2 separate regions of the Homo sapiens genome follow, and region 2 is linked to region 1. Evidence: promoter capture Hi-C in 16 types of primary human blood cells and fetal thymus (Javierre and others, 2016). All regions are on one chromosome and are shown on one strand. The core of a region is centred on a gene start or on the middle of the fragment in contact, and the rest is flanking DNA. Distances in the headings are between cores, read along the strand shown. Region 1 holds the start of VPS18 (VPS18 core subunit of CORVET and HOPS complexes). Region 2 holds the start of LOC124903476 (a long non-coding RNA gene).

What was found. The method cuts DNA at HindIII sites, captures the fragments that hold promoters and counts their contacts. A CHiCAGO score of 5 or more calls a contact.
Region 2: a contact is called between a fragment that was not itself captured here and the fragment with the promoter of VPS18 in region 1, in 1 of 17 cell types (erythroblasts). The highest score is 5.4, in erythroblasts.

The regions. Positions count from the first base shown.
Region 1 is chr15:40,889,772-40,896,226 of GRCh38, forward strand. It overlaps VPS18 (VPS18 core subunit of CORVET and HOPS complexes), which reads left to right and starts at 4,679. Exons shown (of 5, transcript NM_020857.3): 1 at 4,679-5,088; 2 at 6,167-6,308. The coding sequence starts at 4,998. RefSeq lists silencers at 906-955, 2,224-2,273, 4,395-4,564 and an enhancer at 5,405-5,494. The HindIII fragment of the contact is 16,460 bases long and covers 1-6,455 here.
Region 2 is chr15:40,975,802-40,982,745 of GRCh38, forward strand. INO80 (INO80 complex ATPase subunit) reads right to left here. Exons shown (of 36, transcript NM_017553.3): 36 at 3,079-4,639. The coding sequence ends at 4,422. It overlaps LOC124903476 (a long non-coding RNA gene), which reads left to right and starts at 4,576. Exons shown (of 3, transcript XR_007064602.1): 1 at 4,576-4,665; 2 at 5,509-5,619. RefSeq lists an enhancer at 88-1,287. The HindIII fragment of the contact is 1,815 bases long and covers 2,871-4,685 here.

The DNA.
Region 1 (6,455 bases), core at 3,429-5,928:
GGCTGAGGCAAGAGAATCGCTTGAACCTGGGAAGTGGAAGTTGCAGTGAGCCGCATCAAGCTACTGCACTCCAGGCTGGGTGACAGAGCGAGACTCTGTCTCAAAACAAAACAAAACAAAAAAAGGCTGCAGTGAGCCATGATTGAGCCAGTGCACTACAGCCTGGGCTACAGAGTGAGACCCCGTCTAAAAAGAAAGAAAGAAAAAAAAAACACTAAGGAAATTTGAATAGAGTATGAACTTTAGTTAATAATAATATGTCAATATTGGTTCATTAATTTTAACAATGGCACCATACTAATGTAAGATATTCATACTAAAGGAGACTGCACATGAGGTATATAGGAACTCTCTGATCTATCTTCTCAATTTTTCTGTAAATTTTTATTTTATTTATTTATTTTTTTGAGACAGAGTCTCACTCTGTCGCCCAGGCTGGAGTGCAGTAGCACGATCTTGGCTCACTGCAAGCTCCGCCTCCCGGGTTCACGCCATTCTCCTGCCTCAGCCTCCCGAGTAGCTGGGACTACAGGCGCCCACCACCACGCCCAGGTAATTTTTTTTGTATTTTTAGTAGAGACAGGGTTTCACCATGTTAGACAGCATGGTCTCGATCTCCTGACCTTGTGATCCGCCCGCTTCGGCCTCCCAAAGTGCTGGGATTACAGGCATGAGCCACTGCGCCCGGCCTGTAAATTTTAAATTATTTCAAACAGAAAATCTTTTTTTTTTTTTTTTTAATAGAGACAAGTTCTCACTATGTTGCCCAGGCTGGTCTTGAACTCCTGGACTCAAGTGATCCTCCTGCCTCAGCCTCCCAAACTGCTGGGATTATAGGTGTGAGCCACTGCACCCAACCAGAAAATTTATTTTTAATTAAGTCAATTAAATCATTCCTTTTAATCTTGGTCTTAACTAAGTCAACAATTACTACTGGTAGTTAACTTGTATAGAGCATTTTGTATTGAGGCACAGCTTTGGGTGATTTGCATAATATGCTATTATACTCACAATACTCACCTTACAAATATAGAAACTGAGACATGAGAGAGCTCATTCATGCAACTTTTAACAACTGTTTATGAGTGAGTTAGTGAGTGTCCTGGAAGAGTGTGCCCATGGTCTGGGCTCCTCCACGGAGTGCCCTGCAGTTGTCTCATGTGCCACTGTCCAGGTTGAGCTCAATCAAGTGACCCCACCCCTCTTCACCGGGATCCTCCTCCTTGACCATTATGTCACTGCCACCATCTGCCAGGTCTCCCCAGGAGTCATCCTGCACTCTTCTGTCACTTCTCAAATCTAACTTGACACCAAGTCCTGGGGGCCCTTCTTCGGAAAGTTCTCCCCAGCCTATGTTCTTTCTCCTGTTTGGGTCCTCACTGCTTCTCCTTTGCCTCTGCTCGGGTCTCATCTGCTCTGAGGGGATCTCCACCTAAGCCACCACCCATTTTTCCAGAACCCACATCATATACTCTCTCAACCCCAACCAAAACCTTCCCATGGCGCATTGAATAACTTTGCAACCTGGCCACAGCCCGCCTCATTCCCTCCACTCCCTAGCACTCCACCGTTGTACCCCAAAATCACACTGCTTGCAGGCCATTGCTGTTTTCTTTTCCTTTCCTTTCCTTTTTCCTTCCTTCTTTCCTTTCTGTTTTTCTTTTTTTGAGGCAGAGTCTCACTCTGTCACCCAGGCTGTAGTGTAGTGGCACAACCTTGGTTCACTGCAACCTCTGCCTCCCAGGTTGAAGCGATTCTCCTGCCTTAGCCTCCCGAGTAGCTGGGACCACAGGCATGCACCACCACACCTGGCTAGTTTTTGTATTTTTAATAGAGATGGGGTTTTGCCACGTTGGCTAGGCTGGTCTCAAACTACTGGACTCAAGTGATCCTCCCACCTTAGCCTCCCAAAGTGCTGGAATTACAGGTGTGAGCCACCGTGCTCAGCCCTGCTCTTGGTTTTCTTGAGGACTGCATAATACCTTCTCTTTTTGCCCTTAGAGGTCCTACATGCTCTTCAAGTCTTAGGTCAAATTCAACTGCTTTCTTACACAGATCCTCTCTCTCATTGGCTTAGCAGTCACCTGTTACCTGTCTCATGGTAACTGCTACAATGACTCTGAGGACTAGAGGCTGGTGCGTATGTCTCTAGCTGTGAGTTCCCTAAGGCACCTCTGTATCTTCATGCTCAGAAATCACTGGGTTATTTCCTGCAGTTTCTATCAAAGCAAAATGTCCACACTGCATCATTAGGGGCCCCCAAGTGGCCAGAATAAGAAAAGCCAGCTGGGCGCAGTGGCTCGCACCTGTAATCCCAGCTACTGGGAAGGCTGAGACAGGAGAATGGTTTGAGCCCAGGTGTTTAGATGAGCTATGATCACATCACTGCACTCCAGCCTGGGTGACAGAGCAAGATCCCATCTCTAAAAAGAGTTCTGAGGGATCCAGAGAGGCTTCAGGAAGGAGGAGGACTTGAGAGAGACTGTCAGATGAAAGTCACATTTAGAGTTTATTAAGCACATGCTCCATGTTGGGCATTATACTATAGCAGTGAGCTTTCACGTGGATCCCTCATTTACTTCTCAGCACAGACCTACTAGGTAGGTATTTGTCTCTGTAGATGAGGAAACTGAAGCTAAGAGCATCAACTGTGCAGTGTCACAGCTAGCAAGTGGCTGGGCAGGGATAAGAGATACAGCTTGCCCTTGGAGATCATACATGCACTTCAAGTCTTGGGTCAAATTCAGCTGCTTTCATACAGGAATCCTCTCTTTTGATGCCCTAGCAGTCATCCCTTACCTGTCTCATTGCAACTGCCACACTTGATTCTGTGGCTCTCAAAGAATCCAAAGTCCAGCCTAAGAACTGAAGAATGAGTAGGTGGAAATGCACTGTGGTAATCAACGCATAAGGGAGACTGTACTGAGTCTGCCACAAACAGGGTCCACCCAGGCCTATCCCATACATCCCGGAGAGCCATGGAGCCCAACAATGGGGTGCTGGGGTCCCTGAGGCTGTAGCTGGAAGTACTCTGTGTCCCTAAGGCAGCACTCCTATGCTGACCTCCAACTGCTAATGGGCTCTGTGCAGCAGGGACAACCCTCTGCACAGTCCAGACCTGAGGGCAGATGGCAGGTGACCTGGGGGTGAAGTGTTATGTATGGAGCAGGGCAGCTCCCTGTCTGGGATCACTTTTCTTAGAGGAAGCCTCCTGCCTATTGTCCTGCTCCTGCACTTCCCTCCTGGGACCTGGCAACCTCAGGTGGGAAGGCTGCATTGAGGCTGCAGGCTTGGTCAAGAGAAGCAGGACCCTGGTGCGAAGGGAAATGAGCCTGGACAGCATACTTGTCACCTGCCCCAGGACTAGTGCCCCTCCAAGCCAGAGAGCCCAGATAGCCCTCAGTGGGGCTGGTGAGAGTCACAGTTCTCCGCACGTGGCCAGGAAGTTGAGCAAGAGTAACCCAACCACATAAGGTATGGTGCAAACCTGGAAACTTCTGAGAGCAAAGGGATGCTCTTAGTTGTTAGGCGGGGGCCGCCCAGCAGAGCCAGGACGGTGGCGACCCTAGTCCAGAGCCTTCCACTTTAGCAAGGTAGAATCCAAGGGCCCCAGAAGGGAACAGACTCCATCTGGGTCGCCTAAGCAGGTGAGAGAGGAAAACCCAACCACAGTCGCGCCCCAGCCCTCGCAGGTCCCTGGCTGAGGACTCCCCTCTCCACCTCAGGCTGGGCGGCCCCCGCCTTCACGCTTGCTCCCACTTGTCCCTCGTTCTTGCTAGGCTTGGCAGGTATTTGTTCCCTGCTCCTTCACGCTCTCAGTGCCGTGGCCACGTCGCTGGGTACGCCCCACCAGGCAAGAGACATTTTCCGTCTTGTTCTCTGCCACGTCCCCAGAGCCTGGAACAGTGCTTGGCACAGAGTGGACGCTCATTCGTGGAGTAAGTGCCTGATGGATAATCCATCACTTGCTTTTCTAGTATGAATGGTCTATTTACGGGTCCAGCGCCCCTGCTGGCTTACGACCTTTTCCAGGGCGGGGAGGGGCTGTCCTCATCTCTGTGACCCCAGCGCCCAGCCCAAGGCCTGGCACAGAGTAAGTGCTCAACCACATTTTGGTGAATGAGTGAATGGAAGCGGCCCAGCAACCCTGAGCCAAGGAGCCACTGTGGGGCAGGTCAGGGCGGTTCCTGGCACAGGGCTTCCCACTAGCCTGGCCACCAGCTCTGCGGTCTCCTGGAAGCTGGGGGGCCTTTGGGTAAGGGAGAAGAGTGGCCAGGAGTTGTCTGCGTGTGCCCTGTGACGGTGGGATAGAGACAGCGATTGGATTGAGGAACGGGAGGTTCCCCGAGGCTGTTTAGAGAGGCGGGAGCGGGAGCTGGTCAGGGAGGCTGGACAGACCACCCGAGGGAGCGGAGCTTGGGCACGAAAGCCAAAACTGGGCGGCGCGGGGCGGGTGGGGAAGGCCGGCTGAGAAAGCCGGGATTGCCTCCTGGTGTCAAAGCTCGGAACTGCAGCAGGATCCTGGGGGCGGGGCTTGTGTTCAGCAGCACTCGCCACGCGCCCAGCCCTCAGCCCTCGTCTCGCCTTCTGCTGGCTGGCCCGGCGACGTTGTGCGCCAGCGTACGCGGGGCTCTGAGAACCCGGAAGTTACGTTTTAGGCCCGCGTCACGGGGGCGGGAGTCAGCTGAGCTGCCGGGGCGAGGTTGGGATCACCTGGCACCGGCTGAAGGGAGCCTGTGATTTTTTTGTAGCGGGGGCGGGGAGTAAGGTGCAAGACTGCGCCAGATTCAAGGACGAGGGCTGCCCGATTATCTCGCTGCATAAGGCAAGAGCAAGAGGATCCTCAGGATTTTAAAGAGGAGGCGACGGCTGCAGGTTCCCAGGATCTGTCAGAGGCTGGGGAGTTACAGCTTCCATTCTGGGGCGACGGGGACCCCGGGGGGGTAGCCCTTTTGTAATCCCCAGGCCCCGGACAAAGAGCCCAGAGGCCGGGCACCATGGCGTCCATCCTGGATGAGTACGAGAACTCGCTGTCCCGCTCGGCCGTCTTGCAGCCCGGCTGCCCTAGCGTGGGCATCCCCCACTCGGGTAAGGAAGAGGAGGGTGCCGCTGCCCCTTTCGGCTCTCCTAGCATTTGCGTGGGAGCAGCGAGGAGGGCAGCTCCAAGAGCTCGGGGTCATCCCCTGGGCCGTGCCTTCCGGGTCTAGGCCCCTGATTCTCCTCAGGCTCTCTTGGCCCCCAGCTGGTGGATAGTCGAAGTTTGAAAGAGCAACGGGAGCTGCCGCGTGATCTAGGCTCTACCGCTAGGGTCCTTTTGAGAGGGAATTGGGGCCCAGATAAGGAATTACTCACCTACAGGGCGCAGTTGGGCTGTTGGGAGAACTTAGAATGGGCTCCCGGCTTCTGCTGATGCTTTTCCCACCAGGCCCCTTCTGGAGGTGGGAGGGAAGGAATGGACAAAGAAAGTGGTGAAGGCGGAGTATTGCAGAGGAAGAAGGGAGGGTCCCAGAGGGAATTTTGTCGCTGAACGGGGAAAATGGAGATGAAATCTTTTTGGCCTTGGCTATAGCTGGGTGCAGCCTGGAGTTTGGGGACGTTTTTGTAGAAAGTAGTGAGTCTCCAGGAGAATGAGGGCATAGGGAGCCCTGGGGAACTGTTCCAGTGAGTGGAGTTAACGAATTGGAGCTGCTTTCACTCTAGTCTTTACCTTCATTCAATGCTCAAAATATCCCAGCACTTGCCAACTCTACACTGAGGCTCATTACCGCATGGGCAGGGAGGGGGGCAGAGAATGGGGCTATACTACTTCAGTTAAGCTGGGATTGCTGGGCCAAAGACCTGATAAGGGAGAATACCCAGACCACCAGTCCCGTCCCACCTCCACGCAGCCCCATTACCAGTGGGAGCAGGTATATCATGCTGTGACAGCATCTTAAGGGTTCAAAGAATCAACCCCTCACTGCTGTCAGAGTGTGGAAAGAGCTCCAGACCTCTATTGTAAAGGTGACCAGCAAACGACTTGATATCAAACTATTTGTTAACCAAGGTCCTGGGGATAGGAATATGTCAGGAAAGTGGCGAGGAGCACTGTGGTGTTTTTTCTGCCTCTCCTTGCCCTTCACCTGTCTCTTCCACAGCTAATCTTCTTGTCATTCCTTACCTGTAGGGTATGTGAATGCCCAGCTGGAGAAGGAAGTGCCCATCTTCACAAAGCAGCGCATTGACTTCACCCCTTCCGAGCGCATTACCAGTCTTGTCGTCTCCAGCAATCAGCTGTGCATGAGCCTGGGCAAGGATACACTGCTCCGGTAATCAAGAGCTCACAGAGCTTAGGAGTAGGGACTAGAGAGGTGTTTGGGGACTGTTAACTCACTGGGCCTTTCTTCTATTCCAGGCAAGTAAAGCAGTGAATTTGGAGTTTTCAGGAAATATCCTATCCCTTTCCAAAGAGAACC
Region 2 (6,944 bases), core at 2,528-5,027, 85 kb after region 1:
CATTGCACTCCAGCCTGGGTGACAGAGCAAAATCCTGTCTCACAGACAATTTGTGGCAGTGTAGCTGTTGGCATGATTTAATCCAGGGGAAACAGTAGTACGTCCCAGTGGGCCTGAGAGCACCAGATGCCCACATGACCCCAAGCCCTTAGGAAAGGTTAAGGTATGTTCGGTATGTTCTGTTTAGCCATGCAGTGACACAGTATCCTTAAAAGAGAGTTCTAACCAAGCCAAATTCTGGTGCTTAGAATACCGGGTTAAAATGTTAGCCCTCTGAAAGACTTAGCTATTCAGAAAAATTCTAGGTAAGAGTTTATGCTGCTCTTCCCAATTCCACCGGGCCGAAGGCAAACTAAGACTGCTGAAGCTGAACTGCACTGACAATCCATTGGACCTGAACTCTCCCCACCACTCTGCTCAGACATCCCCAGGTAACTGGCACCATCTCTTCAAGGGTGCAAGGCATGGAGCAGCATAGGTCTTCTGGGACCTCTCATCTGGGAAATGGGAGGGGAGCTCCTTTCTTCTCTGGCAGCCAGGAACAGCTTGGGGGGTGGGCCTCTAGTTCAGGGTGGGGTTTGTGGTGATGTGCTGGGGGGGTGGTAGGAGGGTGGAACATTCTGAGCTGAGGCCGGGCATTCTCTCCCAGAGCTGCTTTAGGGGGGCATCAGCTGAGCAAACTTAGAAAACTCCCCACCACCTCCAACTTTGAACCTCTGTGCCCCCTTCCTTCTTCCCCTGAGGCTGTTGCCAAGTCAGACCCAGAGGGGCCTCCCCAATCCTTGGGCCACATATTTATCTTTGAGATTTGTGTGCCAGAACAATGAAATCCCAAGTGGCAGGAGAGCAGAGGCCTTGTGGGCACTCACAGATGCACATTCCATATGCCTTTCTGGAAGAAAGAACTCAGCTCTCTAGGAAGGAGGTAAGAGTCCAGGAGCCTCTCCCTCAGGAATCCTTGTTTCTCACCAAAGGTGCCAGGAACTGTAGGCAGGGATTCTGTGAGGACTGTGAAGTATCTCAAGCTTTGTAATTCTCTGTATACAGTATTGTTTTTGCCTGGTGTCCTTGTTGTGATGAGCAAGAAAATCCTTAATTTAAAAAAAAGAAAAGCATGATGCTCACTTCTGGCAGCAGCTAGGAGAGAACCAGGAGTCCATCCCCCAGCAGCTTGCCACGGGGGTGGGGGTTGGGGGAGAAACTGGAGCGAGAGAGTGGGTGGTGGCAGTTTTGAAGAGGAAAGGGAAGCCAGCTAAGTCCCAGGACCTGAAGCAAGAAAGAAATGAGGGCGCAGGAAGAGGCCAGATAAGGGAGGCACCCAGCTTCCTCAGGGTCCTTTGATGAGGCAGTGGGCCGCCTTAGTACTTGGACACACAATTTCGTGACAACCGGACGTCTCTGCTTTCTCTAGAACACAACCTGCCTTCTCCCTACCCCACCATCTAAGTGGTCTGAATGTGCACCATGAGGCTGGCTGAACTGGGCACCCATGGTCAACACGCTGCCTCCCCAGTTGGGGGTTTCGCGACTCTCTGGTAGTCTCAGAGAAGCGTGGGAGAGCAGCCAAACGGTCTCCATGCCCCCTGAGAGGGGCTTAGGAATTAGTTGAGAAAGATGACTGATCCAGGAGTCTGGTGGTCACAATAAAAGGACACAGGCACAGGAAACACTGAGTCCAGGGGTCACAGACTCTTCATGACATATTGCATCTTGGTGGAGGCCACACAGGAGAGGGACAGTAGCAAATCTGAGGCCTTCTCTCATACCTAACATGCCCAACAGAGGTGCTACCCAGGAAGTGATGGAGAAAATGATGAACAGTTAGTTTAAAAATGAAAAAACAAAACAAAAATGGAGAAAACATATAAGGGATTGAATTTCTCTAGAAATGCTAGGATTTCATTTTCTGTCATCAGGTGTATTAAGCTGGGTAAGAGGAAAAATAAAGTATTTCCTGCACCGGGCTTCCTGGCTGGGGTGCGGGCATATAAGCAAAGAGCAGAGATTTTTCCTGCTTGGCAGGGCTGGAAGGCACCCTAGGGCCTTGTTATTCCAGGGGTAGTCCAAGGACTAGCAAGCAGCATGGCCATCACCTGGGATCTTCTCAAGAAACTCAGTCTCAAGCCTCAACCTAGACCTTCAGAAACAGAACTTGCATGTTATGATCTCAAGGTGATTTGTGTGCACATTAACACTGGAGAAGCGTTGCCTTAAGGGACAATTCAGGTTTCAAATTACTATCTTTTCTTATGAAAAATCTTTACATAGCATGTAAAGGCAGAGCTGCTTAGTTCTGATGTTGGTTTATTCTGTGTGAGGCCTTGGTCAAGTTCACCAGCAAGATAAACAAGATCCAGAGTATCTAGTAATGTACTTGATGTCAATGAAGAAAGGCTGATCCTTGTGACTGTGGTGGGCATCAGCTGCCCAGGAGCCAGCCCACCCTGACCAACAGCGTGCAGGGTGAGCAAGGCTAGGGAGGCCACACAGCCAGCATACTTGGGAACCACATGAGCCCTACCCAAAAGTGATACAAGAGCTTATCAGTGTTTCACCCAGTCAGAGAAACGCTGGCTGCCAGGCCAGGCTGGGAACTAGGGCTCTTTTCCCAACTATCACCAAGGTAAGTTTTCACAGCCTGGATGTCTCTGGCATCCTTAGGAATGTATTTCACCATTTTCTTTCATGATTCTTAAGAGTGCAGCTAACTTTGAGAACACTGCCACTATTAAGATGACCACTATGTAGCTCTGCTTAATGGCGCCTAGGCCAAGCCGCCCACACCTCAGTCCTGGGGTCTAAGTCCTGAGTCATAAAGAGCCCACCATGGAGACAAGGGCGTTGACCACTGCATGTCAGACAGTTGGTCAAGCTTCCTTTCTGATGGCCAGAGGCAAATTCATAAGCCCAATCAATTCTGCTACTAAGGAAACACCCACAGTCCACTCCTTGTCCCACCAACCCCTGTCCTCTCTGATCACAGGCGAGGGCTCTGCTTTCCCTGTATCCTGCCACATCCACCAAGGGCTCTAGTTTGCCTCCAAGGAGGGGCAGCTGCAAAGACCACAGACACCTCAATTTACATAAAATTATCTCACTCCATTTTATTTAAGATTTTTTTATCCAGTTAGTAAAAGGAAGATGTGTCTCTCTTTATACATATGTACAAGTTCAGTTATAAAAATAGCACATTCAAAGAGAAAAGGCTTGGCATTTTTCTGATTCCCTCTAAATAGCATCTGTACACAGGAATCTGGGTTTGAGCAGGGGAATCTTAATGATTTAAATTAAATGATTCCCCTATACCCCCTACTCCAAAAAAGTTTTAAAAATCAATCTATCGAAACTCAATTCCGCGATTTTCAGGTGTGCAAATCAGAGGCTTGCCCGCCCGGAGGTACCTGCTCCACCAGGGACATCAGGCAGGGACAGGCAGAAACACCTCCCATGCAAACACTGCCCCTCTGTCTCTACTGGAGGGCAGCAAGCTCAGGCTGGCCGGGCTGGGAGGGCCGGTGCCGAGCCTGCCCCCTCTCTCCGCCCTCTTCACCTCACTCCTGCTGTCCCTTCCTCTCTCAGTGCAATATAGACAGTGCATACAGCCAAGCAGGGGACTGAAGGGCATGAGCAGGGAGACTGTGCATTCAGGATGGGCAAAGGGGACTCTGCAAGAGGGGCAGTGAGGCTGTCCTGCTGATTGAGGTGGCTCCTGGTCTCTCTACTGGCTTCTGGGAGTCCCCTGGGTGGAAGGTGCTACGGTTGCTGGTAGGATCTGAAGGTTCTCTTGGTGTGAACCATGCAGGATGGGAGGAATTGCTGGGAACACAACTGCCTGTGGATAGACTTCCTCTAGCCTCTACCATGCTTAGCGGCCTCCACCATCTCTCGCAGTCACTGCTCTCTCCAATGATGACACTCTGGGGTTCAGAGACCTGGGGAGCTGCCTGAAGACTGTGGACAACAGGTATACAATCTCCCTTACTAGCCCTATGAGAAATCACACTCTTAAGAGAAATCTCTACCATGGAAGGCTCTTCACAGCACCTGCGGAGACTTTGCAAGGGACGTGTCAGAGCCGAAGAGTGGAATCGGGATGGAAACAGTATGCCTGAGCATCTAAAGGGGGTCTGTGTCAGGCTTGCCCCGTGAGAGGTTTAAGACTTGGCTATACAGTTCACTTGAGATGCAGTGGGGCTGATCCATGCCCTGTGGCCTTCCTCCTACAGGCACCCCAGATGCTCCTGATGAGACACAGATGATAAAAGTGCTCACACCATCCACCTGCCTGTCCTTCCCCTGCTGGACATTTCCACTTCTGACTCAGGATGCAAGATGCTGCACGGGGCAAGCCATCCAAAGACCACTGGCAGGTCAGGACTCTAGCCCTGGTTTGGTTGAAGGAAGTCGGAGGGCCCAGATGGTTACCGTCCTCCAGAGGGGTTGGTGCCTTTGCCCTGTTTCCGGACCAGAGAGTCTGGGGCTAGGCTGCTGGTCATGTGGAGGTTCTTGGGATTCCCAGGAACATTATTTCCCTTGCTCAAAGGGGAACTCAAAGGAGAAGAGGCGCTTGAAGGTCCAAAGTCAGCAAGGCCAGCAGGCCGAACAAGGGATGTCTGCAGAGGACTGCTGGCGGAGATTCCTGTGGGGACGGAGAGAGACAAGAACGTAAGCACCAGTCCCGCGTAAGCTTCCTTGGAGCCTGTGGCCTTGGTTACCAGAGTCTGAGCTGGAGGAGAAGTGGTGGGCAATTCCTCCCTGCCACTCCTTGCTAACAACTTCTTGGCATGTTTGCTTGCTCTTCCTGTCAACTGTCTTTTCAGTAAGAGGAATAGATTTTTAAGAGAAAATGATACCTACCCAACCCTCTCTATACTACTTCATCCACAGATGGTAAAATGTTCATCTTGACACTCTAGATAGAGCACACATTTTACAATCTGAGACACCAAAGTTACAGGATGAGAGCTGTAACTTACTAGGCACAAACAGGTTTTTCCTTTCTTCTTTCTTGGAACATCAAGTTTGATAAGATGTTTCCTTTTCAATTTCATGCTCCTGCTACTCTCCAGTAAGTCGGGCCAGAGGGTACAAGGCTGCCCACTCTCTATCCTGTGTCTATATTCATACAGTTCTCCTTGCGCTGGCAATGGCCACCCCTGCTCTCCAAGGCCTGTGTCACTTCAAGGGCACAGCTCAAATCCCCCATCTTGAGTGATGACTCCCTGGGCAACAGTGAACTTCCCTTTTTCCTACATAAGCCAAATCCACTTACATGTGATAACACATTGATTCTTCAATTGTTTCATATGTACTGGTTTTACTTTCCAAAAAAGAATTCTAAGTGCTTGATGGGCAGACATGTCTCTCTCCTCATCCACAGTGGAACCACGGGTACTCTCTGAACCACTCCTTTCCCTTGATTTCCATTTCCAGTTGCCAAGCACTGTTGGTTTTTCTTGTGCTGCTCTACCCCCTCTATCTCCCTCACCCTTTCTGCCCTCTACACAGTGCAGGTTCTGAGGAGAAACCCTGATGAGTATATGCAATGCCCCAGCCATGGGTGAGACCCTGCCACGGCAGCCTGGACTACTGGCATGACTGTTGTTTTCCAAGGATGTGGTAAGTTGGCAAAGGGCTAAGAAACACTGGGCGAGGCTATTATACTTCATATTTCCTCTATCATACTTCATATTTCCTGGAAGAACCAATAAATGAAAGCTGAGATTTCTGCAGTAAGAGAAAAGGCAAGTAAACTAACAATTACTGAGCAATTACTACACTCCAAGCACTTTCTATACTAGTATGCCTTTACTTGCTACAACTATGAGCTCATACTAAGCCCACGTATTGAATGGGAAGAAAGGTCTGTAAGTGGCTCTCTCTTTCTCACCACACTCAAATGTCCTGTACTTTATAGCTACAATCATCCTTCACATATCACGGTCACAACAGCCACTTTTTTCCTCAAACTGTCTGCAGCCCCTTGTCACACATCTGCTAAGCTCCTGCCCAGCAGGCCTCGCCATGTGTTTACAACCTTGACTCCTACTGCTCCTCTTCCATGGAACCTAAGCTGCTCAGTGACCCCCAGTATGCCTTGGCCACTGCCAGCTCTCTGTCACCAGTCCAAATCCTTCCTCATTCTTCTCCTCCCTTTTGAATACAGACAGGCAACTTATCAGCAGGACCATGGTTCCCTCTCCTCCTGACCTACAACTGCTGTGGCTGCCTTCTTTTCATTCCCCTGTATTTTGCCGTGGATTGCTGTTAAGAGTACTGCATGCATGGCTTCCCCTTCTCATTGCTATTATACACTCAGGAGCAAGGTCCATGTGGAATACTCCTTTTTACGTTTTTTAGTTTTTGAGAGAGTCTTGCTCTGTCACCCATGCTGGAGTGCAGTGACCTGATCTCAGTGCACTGAAACCTCCACCTCCAGGGTTCAGTCAATTCTCGTGCCTCAGCCTCCCAAGTAGCTGGGACTACAGGCGTGAGCCACCACGCCCATCTAATTTTTTGTGTTTTTTGGTAGAGACAGGGTTTCCTCATGTTGGCCAGGCTGGTCTCGAACTCCTGGCCTCAAGTGATCTGCCTGCCTCAGTCTCCCAAAGTGTTGGGATTACAGGTGTGAGCCACTGTGCCTGGCCCATGTGGTATACGCCTATGCATGCAGCAGGTGCCTCATATCTAGGTGATAAATCACACAGCTGAATGAACGTTAACTATGCTAATTTGGATTACTAAAATGTGGATCTCAGAAATGAAAGCCTAGGAAGAAAACAAATCCCCAAAGCAAGAAAAATTCAGAATGTTTAAAGTAGTACAGTTCACAATTCAGCTCTCCCTTTTTACAACTACTTCCAATCCACAGACAGCCCTGTACCGTCAGGAGGGCAAGGGGTGAGTCAACAGTGCTTATTACAAAGAAGAAGAACCCCAATTGG